Regions from separate parts of the Homo sapiens genome. Here region 2 is linked to region 1. The links are contacts of gene promoters, found by promoter capture Hi-C in blood cells and fetal thymus (Javierre and others, 2016). All regions are on one chromosome and are shown on one strand. Each heading gives the region's core, a stretch centred on a gene start or on the middle of the fragment in contact. The rest is flanking DNA. Distances are from core to core; before and after follow the strand shown. Region 1 holds the start of QPCTL (glutaminyl-peptide cyclotransferase like). Region 2 holds the start of MAMSTR (MEF2 activating motif and SAP domain containing transcriptional regulator).

The links. Contacts are between HindIII fragments. The CHiCAGO score rates a contact against its expected background, and 5 or more counts as called.
Region 2: a fragment that was not itself captured here is called in contact with the fragment with the promoter of QPCTL in region 1 in 1 of 17 cell types (fetal thymus); the score reaches 5.5 in fetal thymus.

Annotation. Positions count from the first base shown.
Region 1 is chr19:45,691,416-45,696,434 of GRCh38, reverse strand. It overlaps QPCTL (glutaminyl-peptide cyclotransferase like), which reads right to left and starts at 3,769. Exons shown (of 7, transcript NM_017659.4): 1 at 3,525-3,769; 2 at 2,879-3,022; 3 at 717-998. The coding sequence starts at 3,731. SNRPD2 (small nuclear ribonucleoprotein D2 polypeptide) reads left to right here and starts at 4,482. Exons shown (of 3, transcript NM_001384647.1): 1 at 4,482-4,548. The coding sequence starts at 4,547. RefSeq lists enhancers at 3,062-3,612, 4,138-4,267, 4,278-4,407, 4,226-4,946. The HindIII fragment of the contact is 1,670 bases long and covers 2,692-4,361 here.
Region 2 is chr19:48,718,335-48,723,438 of GRCh38, reverse strand. It overlaps MAMSTR (MEF2 activating motif and SAP domain containing transcriptional regulator), which reads left to right and starts at 3,714. Exons shown (of 10, transcript NM_001130915.2): 1 at 3,714-3,760; 2 at 4,387-4,465. The coding sequence starts at 4,408. It overlaps RASIP1 (Ras interacting protein 1), which reads left to right. Exons shown (of 12, transcript NM_017805.3): 11 at 1,438-1,585; 12 at 2,442-2,854. The coding sequence ends at 2,641. RefSeq lists enhancers at 2,374-2,423, 2,128-3,073 and a cis regulatory region at 2,391-2,931. The HindIII fragment of the contact is 260 bases long and covers 2,460-2,719 here.

The DNA of each region.
Region 1 (5,019 bases), core at 2,520-5,019:
GTTTTTGGTAGAGATGGGGTTTCATCATGTTGGCCAGGCTGGTCTTGAACTCCTGACCTTGTGATCCACCCACCTCAACCTCCCAAAGTGCTGGGATTCCAAGTGTGAGCCACGGAGCCTGGCCAGAAAAGCACATTCTATCCAAAGCAAACAGCAAGTGCAGATGCCCTGAGGTGGGAGCAAGCTCTGCGGGTTTGAGGAACCCAGAGGAGGTGGGGGTGGCTACAGCAGAGTGAGCAAGAGGTGAGGGGTGGGAGATGAGGCTGGAGAGGTAACAGGGCACAGCTCGTGGGCCAATATAAGGACTCTGGATTATGGCTGGAATGAGGCGGGAGCCCTGGGAGGGTTTGGGGGAGAGGAAAGAGAATCTGACATCTAGAAGGTAAAAAGATCCCTGTGATGACCAGGCGCGGTGGCTCACGCCTGTAATCCCAGCACTTTGAGAGGCCGAGGTGGGCAGATCACCTGAGGTTGGGAGGAGAATTGCTTGAACCCAGTAGGCAGAGGTTGCGGGGAGCCAAGATCTCGCCATGTGCACTCCATCCTGGGGAACAAGAGCGAAACTCCGTCTCAAAAAAAAAAAAAAGATCCCTGTGGCTCTGTGCGTGGAGTAGAGTGGGAAGACGAGAGGGATGACAAATGTCCAGGCAAGGGAGGGTGGGGGCTTGGGAAAAGGTGGAGGTAGCCCACTACCCTCCCCGACTCCTGCTCCTCACCTGTTTTTTGGCCCTGCTCAGCTCCAGGTCAAGTGCTTGGGCCAGCTCCAGCAGCAGGGCACAGGGCACAGCCGAATCCGTGGCCCCTACAAAGGGGGTCGATCCGGGTGGGAAGAGCTTCGAGTCATAATGGCAGGCAAGGGTGAGGTGACGGGCAGCCCTTGGGTCCAGTGTGGCCACCACATTGCCAAAGTCCACTGGCCCCAGGGGTGTTGAGGCTGTGAAGGGATCCAGCTCCACGTGCCAACCTGCTGTCAGGGACCGCAGCGTGGCCTCCAGGAACTAGCGGCAAGAGAGAGGTGGGAGGGTGGACGGGGACTGGGGAGGAGGTGGGGAGAAGGGCCACGTGACCTGAGCCATGCAGAGCAGATGGGTTGACACTAAAGCCCCACTCTGATTGAATGGATTTCTTTCTTTCTTTCTTTTTTTTTTTGAGATGGAGTCTTGCTCTGTCACCCAGGCTGGAGTGCAGTGGCTTGATCTTGGCTCACTGCAACCTCTGCCTCCTGGCTTCAAGTGATTCTCCTGACTCAGCCTCCTGAGTAGCTGGGGTTACAGGCGCCCCCTACAACGCCTGGCTATTTTTTGTATTTTTAGTAGAGATGGGGTTTCACAATGTTGGCCAGCCTGGTATTCGAACTCCTGACCTCAAGTGATCTGCCTGCTTCAGCATCCCAAAGTGTTGGGATTACAGATGTGAGCCACTGTGCCCAGCCCCCTACTCTGATTAAAATCATTCCCTTGACAGTGCTGGTGAGTACCTACTGGGTGCCAGATGTTGGGGAGACCCCACCTCTTGAAGCCAGCAAGACTCATCACAGCTTACCCTTAAATAGCTCTCACTGTGTGCTAAGCCCTCTTCTAGGAACCATTTAGGGGAGGGACTGCCAATACATGACCCCATTTTACAGATGAGGAAATGGGCTCAGAGAGGTTAAGAAACTAGTCCAGGCCGGGCGCGGTGGCTCACGCCTGTAATCCCAGCACTTTGGGAGGCTGAGGTGGGCGGATCATAAGGTCAGGAGTTTGAGACCAGCCTGGCCAATATGGTGAAACCCCGTCTCACTAAAAATACAAAAAATTAGCCAGGCATGGTGGTGCACACCTGTAATCCCAGCTACTCAGGAGGCTGAAGCATGAGATTTGCTTGAACCTGGGAGGTGGAGGTTGCAGTGAGCCGAGATCGCGCCACTGCACTCCAACCCAGGCGACAGTGTGAGACTCCATCTCAAAATAAAATAAAATAAAATAAAATAAAAAAGAAACCAGTCCAAGGTCACAATCTAAGTGGATGAGGTAGCATTGGGACTCAGGCAGTATTTAAGTGACTTTTTTTTTTTGAGATGGAGTCTCGCTCTGTCACCCATGCTGGGGTGCAGTGGCGCAATCTCAGCTCACTGCAGTCTCCGCCTCCTGGGTTCAAGTGATTCTCGTGCCTCAGCCTCCCAAGTAGCTGGGACTACGGGTACCCACCACCACGCCTGGCTAATTTTGTATTTTTAGTAGAGATGAGGTTTCACCATGTTGGCCAGGCTGGTCTCAAACTCCTGATCTCGAGGGATCTGCCTGTCTCGGCCTCCCAAAGTGCTGGGATTAGAGGTGTGAACCACTGCGCCTGGCCTTTAAATGACTCTTCATGCTTTCTGGAAGACAACAGATACATTACAGCACCAGCTCGGAGCCAACCTGTTTGGGTTCAACTCTAGGTCTATGATTTTCTAAACATTGGGTCTCACTAGGTTGACTAGGCTAGTCTCAAACTTCTCAGGTGATTCTTCCACCTTGGCTTCCCAAAGTGCTGGGATTACAGGCATGAGCCACTGCACCCGGCTAAGGTCTACTACTTATTATCTGTAGGATTTGTGCAATGTGTATAACCTCTCTGAGCCTCAGTTTCCCCATCTGCATAATGAAGATCATATTGGTACCCACCTTATAGGGCTGTCTGTTGCCTATGCCTAGCACACAGTAAGCTTTTGGTGGGGGCATTAAGGGGGGCAGTACAGCCTGGTGGTTTGTTACCAGCATGGAGTCTAGAGTCCGATTAACTCCAGTCAGAGCCCCAGTTCCTCCTCTTAGCTTCTTTGGGATCTTGAACAGGATTCTTATTTCCCATTCCCTGGAGGGCTAGGGGGTCAGGGACTGGAGGTGGGTCCCTTTACCTTTCTGACTTGGAGATTTCCCGGGCTGCCCGGGGTTCGCACAACCAGCAGGGGGCGCAGATAAGTGCTCCAGAGACGCTGTGGATCCAGTTGTCCCACCACCCTCCGCAGCCGGGCTTCGGGGAGGCTTCCGATCAATGGGACCTTGGGAAGGAGGTGGGATAGGGAAGGGAAGAATGAGAGCAACCCCCCCATTTCAACCCTACCCCGGGCGCCGTCACCCGCGAGGAGCCCCGGGTTCTCTTCCTAATCTGCCGCCTCCAGCATCGGAGACTTCTAGGATAAATCCAAGGCTCAGGAAAAGTCCTTCCAAGACCATCCGGTCCAGCCTACCTCAAACTTGATGGGGAAATCGAGGCCCAGTGAGAGAGAGGGGAGATGGAGGAAGGGACTCTTCCAAATAGTTGACTAAAGGCGTAGAACCCTGAACCCCCCCGTCTTACTATTTCAGACCTTTCCTCTTAAAAGGAAGCTACTGTTGCAGAACCAGCCCGAAGCCTTATTCCTTTGGTAAGGGTCATGCGCTCAGATGACGAAGACGGTGGCATCTGCGGTTAGGGCCGTACGCTAAAGCCACGTCAACCCTGGGTAACAGCGGGGAGGGAATGAGGGTCCCCGCGGTGCCCGGGTCCCCGCCCAGCCTCACCCGCAGCTCCCGGCCCAGCGGCAGCTCCTCAGTCCTGCGGTGCCAGCCGCTCCAAATGGTGTAGAACGCCGAGCCCACGGCCAGCGCCAGCAACAGAGGCAAGAGCCGAACCCGCGGTAGCAGGCGGCGCTTCGGCGGCAAGAGTGGCTCCATGAGGCCACGTTCCCCCAGCCGCAGGCGGGGTCGCCCGCGGCCCCCGGAACGCATGGCCGCTTTGCCCTGAAACCTGTACCAGACCACGGATTGAGTTTAGGCCCAGCCAAGTTCCTCCCCATGGAATCGGTGGGCCAATAAGCAACAGCTGCGGCTGCACCAGCCCACCCCACAGCGAGCAGCGAAACCAATAAGAACTACGGTCCTGAGGACACGCCTCCCAGCCTCCCTTAGGTATTGGGGTTGGTTCCCCTGAGAATGGCACGACCCAAATGGGAGCGCAAGAGAAGTAGGCTCCGCCTTAGCGGAGGAGGGAAAGCCAATGAACAGCGTTTGATCATGGAAAATATTCGATCTCCCGGGCGCAGGTCCATGCCCCTTCCGGATGTAGGCAGGGGATTGGTGGCGCAGGGTCGGAAAGATCAGTAGATACGTCAGTAACGCGTCCCAGAGGGAAGAGGGGCGGTGCCTGTCTCCGAAGCGAGGAGCGGATTGGCTTCACGGAGGCCGCGCCCCCGAAGTCACGGCCGGCGGGCATTTGGAAATAGCTTGTCATTTCCCTCCTTCAACCTGTACCATTCTTCAAGAAACGGTTTGAATCAGACTGCCTTTCCTTTTGTCTTCATTGTCATAAACATCTGCCCCCGTGTGGTTCTGACTGGCCGCGAACCCCTACCCGAAGCTTTTATTCCATCATTGTGCACCGTTGGTGGGGAATGCTGTGGCAACAGGCCACGCCTCCACTTACTGGTTGGCTTTGCGCAGGCGCCAACGGAAGTGGGTCGCAGGAAGAGGAAGTCCCGCCTCTCTCTCCTCAGGCAGCAGCAACGCGGAGGAAACGGGAGTGAACGGAGAGCGTAGTGACCATCATGTGAGGCCGGGCTAGGCTTAGGCGGCGGGAATGAGGTTGAGGGTGGATATTTGACCGATTGAGTGTGGGAAGGGTTGAGCAGAGCGGGGGGGGCAGGGGCAGATGTTTTAGGGATGCAGCGTCCTGCTTTTCTCCTGATGAGTTTGAGAACGGGCGTGGGGCCTTTGACGCATCGTGACTTCGGGAGAGGGGACAGCTTTATCAGATAACGCCCTGGGCTGGGCGCGGGGGCTCATTCCTGTGATCCCAGCACTTTAGTAGGCCAAGGCGGAGCATCGCTGGAACACAGGAGTTCGAGACTAGCCTAGGCAACATAGCGAGACCCCCGTCTCTACAAAAAAAAAAAAAAATTTAATTATGAAAAACATGTTTTAAACGATAACGGGAGTGGTCCTAGATAATTAGTCCTATTGAAATGAATGTTAAGGGGCAGCGATTTTACGAATACTGGGGGAGGCCGAGCGCGGTGGC
Region 2 (5,104 bases), core at 1,340-3,839, 3.0 Mb before region 1:
ACAGGCACGCGCCACCACACCCGGCTAATTTTTGTAATTTTGGTAGAGACAGGGTTTCACCTTGTTGGGCAGACTGGTCTTGAACTCCTGACCTCAGGGGATGCGCCTGCCTCGGCCTCCCAAAGTGCTGGGATTACAGGCGTGAGCCACCATGGCCGGCCAATTTCAATTATTTATTTTCCTTTCTTCTTAAATATCTTACAAAAACTGTTCCCCATAGACATTTATTTATTTATATCAAATGTTTATAATGGGCTGGGCGTAGTGGCTAATGCCTGTAATGCCAGCATTTTGGGAGGCCGAGGTGGAAGGACCGCTTGAGCCCAGGAGTTTGACACCAGTTGGCAACATAGGGGAGACACCATCTCTACCAAAAATTTTAAAAATTAGCCAGGTGTGGAGGCACACGTCTGTGGTCCCAGCCACTCCAGAAGCAGAGGTGGAAGGACTGCTTGAGCCCAGGAGGTTGAGGCTGCAGTGAGCCACAGTCATGCCACTGTACTCCAGCATGGGTGACAAAGCAAGACCCTGTCTCAAAACAATAAGAAAGAAAGTTTACCATGCATTTAATAAGCCCCAGGCAGTGTTCCAAGTACTTTACAATTTTGCCATATTGCATCCTCATACCAACTCTATTAGATAGTTCCTGTTCTCCAAATTTATGGATGAGGAGACTAGGGGACGGTGACCTGCCGGAAGGTAATAAGTGACCCACCTGGGATTTTTGAACTCAGGCAGTCTAGGTGGAGTCTCTGATGTTAAGCACATTGATGGTTCTGACGTCAGCTACATCAGGTGTAGACATTGTCAAACAGATATAGAGTGGCCGCCATAGAATAATGAATCCCAACTGGGCGCAGTGGCTCATGCCTGTAATCCTAGAACTTTGAGAAGCTTGAGACCAGCCTGGGCAGCATAGTGAGATCCCATCTCTACAAAAACTTAACCAGGTGTGGTGGCGTGTGCCTGTAGTCCCAGCTACTCTGGAGGCTGGGGCCAAGGATCACTTGAGCCCAGGATCACTTGAGCCGGGAGTTTGAGGCTGCAGCAAGCCACGATCGAGCCACTGCACTCCAGCCTGGGCGACGGAGTGAGACCCTGTCTCTTTAAGGACAAAAAAAAAAAAAAAAAAAAAAAATCCCCAAGTACCATCGCCAGATTCAATAATATAAACGAATGGCCAATCTTATTTATTTCCACCCTACTCATTTCCTGTATCCTCAATTATCCTGAGGCACATCACATTTTTACAAATTGCTGGGAGCACACCCTTCCCCACCATCACTTTGGTGATAAACAGACTTCACAGTGCCCAGAAGACACTGCAGAGATGCCATTATCTTCCCACCACACCCACTCCCCTTATGGAAGCCCTTCCATTTCATTTCTTAACTGCCCCGTAATGACCATCAACCTCTCACCTGGTCTTCCCACCAGGCTTCATGGAGCAGCCTAAGAACCGACCACCCCACCTTGACCCCCGCCCAGCTGCACCATCTGCTCAGCCACTATCAGCTGGGCCCTGGCCGCGGGCCGCCAGCCGCGTGGGACCCTCCCCCTGCAGAGCGGGAGGCTGTGGACACAGGTGAGGAGCAATGGGATACAGCATTGGGGCTGTCAGCTTTCTTCTTCTTTTGAGACGGAGTCTCGCCCTGTCACTCAGGCTGGAGTGCAATGGCGCGATCTTGGCTCACTGCAACCTCTGCCTCCCGGGTTCAAGCGATTCTCCTGCCTCAGCCTCCCGAGTAGCTGGGATTACAGGCATGCGCCACCACGCCTGGCTAATTTTTTGTATCTTTAGTAGAGACGGGGGTTTCACCGTGTTGGCCAGGCTGGTCTCGAACTCCTGACCTCGTGATCCGCCCGCCTCGGCCTCCCAAAGTGCTGGGATTACAGGCGTGAACCACCTCACCTTTCTTCTTTTCTCAGGATCTTGGAGTCCAGATCCCCAGTCTCCTTCTAACCCCAGATTCTGGACCCCTGTCCCTCCCCACCAGGACATAAGTGCAGGACCCAGCCCCTTCCCCCGTCAAGATACAGGAGTTCAAGCCCCCAGCTCCCTTTATTCTCTGGGGTTCGCATCCCTAGTCCATTCCCTCCACCAGCCACCCACCCACCACCCCTAGGAGTCCAGGTCTCGGGACTTTCACTCCCCTGAACTTGACTCCTCCACCTTTAGGAATCTGTAAGGCAAGTTCCCAGCCCTTTCTCGGGGATTTGGGAAGCCGTTTCCCAGGCAACGGTGGCCTTCCATCGTCTGAACTACAACTTCCATCATGCCCAGGGGCTCCTAGAGTAGCGTGTGAACGGACCCCGCCCCAGGAGTTGCTGGGGTTTGTAGTTTTTTTCTTCCTTTGGGTGTGACGCAGCCTCGGCTCTTCCCGATGCAACTACCTCACTCCCACTTTCAGACTCTAACCGCGCCGCCTTCGGCCTCACAGGGGACATCTTCGAAAGCTTCTCCTCGCACCCGCCCCTCATCCTCCCCCTGGGGAGCTCGCGCCTGCGCCTCACTGGTCCAGTGACGGACGATGCCTTGCACCGTGAACTCCGTAGGCTCCGCCGCCTCCTCTGGGATCTTGAGCAGCAGGAGCTGCCAGCCAATTATCGCCATGGGCCTCCCGTGGCCACGTCTCCTTGAGAACCAATACCAAACGAGCGCGCGAACCTTGAAATGTCACGGGCTTCTACGGACAGGAGCCCGCCTGAGCGCAAAGCTTTCTGGGAGTTGTAGTTCTTATCCCGCGTGGAATGTTGGGAGATTGAGTTTTCGGGAAGTAGCGGATGGGACGGTGGGAGCATGGGCTTAGGATGTGAATGCCAGGGAGCAATAAAGGTATCCGTGGTATCGGCAGCGCCTCGATTGTTAAGACTCAGGGGCGCTAATGATGATTTTCTGCAGAACAAGGTTGCAGGGCCCTTGTCTGGGCCCCTGCCGAGTCTGAGGAGGTATTTATAGCCACGGCCTTGGCTCGCCCTTTTGCATGTAATCCAACCCAAGAGCAGAGGAGCCTCCCACACCCCTCAGAACACGGCCCTAAGCTTGCTCTGCCGATTATAAGGCCCTCAGTCCTGCCAGTGGGAACCAGCGATTCTCCCTTCGACACCCCCCCAAATCCATACTCCAGCCCCCTCCTCCCTCAGACCCAGGAATCTAAGTCCCCAGCCCCCTCTGGACCTTTCTGCCTGCCGGGCACACCGCCGAATCCGAACACCTCTGTCCCTGTTCCCAACACCCCAGAGGCCCCTGCCTCTTTTTCTTTAAACCCAGGACTCCAGGTCCCCATCCCTCTCCTTTCTTGGATCCAGGAATCTGGGCCCCCCGTTTGAACTTTTCACTCCCCTGAACTTGACTCCAGTTGCTGCGTCAGGGAAAAAGTAGGCGACAGGTGGCACCTGCCGGTAGGGCCAGGACACGACCACCTGCCGCTGCTGCTCACCCGGCGCCCCTCTCCGGGCACCTGCTTCTGTCAGTCCGCCTGCCACCGTTCCCCCCGACCCCACAACCCCAGGACGTGCAGGAGGAGCGAGCCGGGGAACCCTGACGTCCCCGCTCTCACCCCCCAGCATCCCCCAAGGCCCGCACAGGCCCTCCCAGCGGGTGCTCCCACCCCTTCTCAGGGTCCCCGGCGGGGCTCCCGTCACACCCCAGGAAGGTGGGTTGGAGGCGGTCCCAGGCTGGTGGGGCGGAGCCTGTGGTGTCCAGCCTCGGCCTCTAGACTCAACCCGCCCCAGAGCACAGCTTCGCCGAGCCCACCTGGTGAGAAGCCCCTGGGGTGGACGGGGGGGGCGCACTCCTCAACGGTTCTATCCCCTCTCTGGTCCCAGTCCCTTCCCCAGAGAACCTGGTGGCTGACACCCTACTCACTCCTTCTCAGATGCAGGTCACAGGGGCCCTTCTATTCCTCAGAAACCTGTCAGGGCCCCGTTCCCCTCTCCACCCAGGATCTTGGATTCTCATCTCCTAAGAGTATTGAGTTCCAGCCCTTAACCTCCTTCTCCTTCAAGATTCCAGACTCCAGGCCCCTCTGCTTCCTCCCTTTCCTAGACACAGGGGTCCCAACCCGCAACCCTTCCTCCTCAGGACCCAGGAGTCCCAGATTCCAGGTCCCTCCCCTCCCAGGATCCCAGGGTTGAGACCCTCAGCCCTGTCTTTCAGACCAGGTGTCTGGGTCCCCAGCTTCCTCCTTCCTCGGAGCAAGGTGTCCGGGTGTGCAGCCCCCTCCTCTACAGCCCCTGGGATCCGGAAGTTATGGCCCAAGGCTGCTCCTATTCCCACCTCCTTCGGGCCCTTTCCCTGCTGAATTCACTCTCAGGGGCGGCCTCCTGACCTCCACTCTGAGCCAGCCCTCTATGGGGCCCCTGCCCTGCCCCCTCTCCGTCCAGGTCCCCATCCCGGCCTTGGCAATGACCCTGGCGGCTTCCTCCCAGCGTTCCCAAATCATTCGCTCCAAGTTCCGATCTGGTGAGAGAGGGCTCTCTTTATGCGTGGGGGATGGGATCCTGAGAATGCTGTACTCTGGGGTGGGAAGGGAGGGGTGGTAGGTCCCATGAGGCCTGTGTTTTTTGTGCAAAAGGTCATGTTGCATAAAGGAGGCCCAAGCACAGGGGTCCGGCTGTGGTGGATCAACGAGTGTGCAAATGGCTAGTAGCATGCTCACGGGGGGAGCAATGGGGATTGGAGGCCAGGGGTAGGCGTGCAGAGGGCTCAAGCACTGAAGAGAAACAAAGGCTTATACTGGCGCACACGCAGGGGCAGAAGAGCAGAGGAGGGACCTCAGAGGACCAGTGTGGGAGTTTGGGTGAGGGGACAATGAGCTGTCAAGCTGTGAAAGTGTCAAAGGTCTTGTTTTAGGTCCCAGGGCAGGCAAAAAGTCTGCAAGTATAGCCGGGTGTGGTGGCGCATGCCTGTAATCCCAGCTACTTGGGAGGTTGAGGCGGGAGAATCGCTTGAACCCGGGAGGAGGAGGTTGCGGTGAGCCGAGATCACGCCATTGCACTCCAGCCTGGGCAACAAGAGCGAAACTCCATCTCAAAAAAAAAAAAAAAAAAAAAAAAGAAGTGTGCAAGTGTTTCGAACTACAGATCAGTTCCTGAGAAGGCA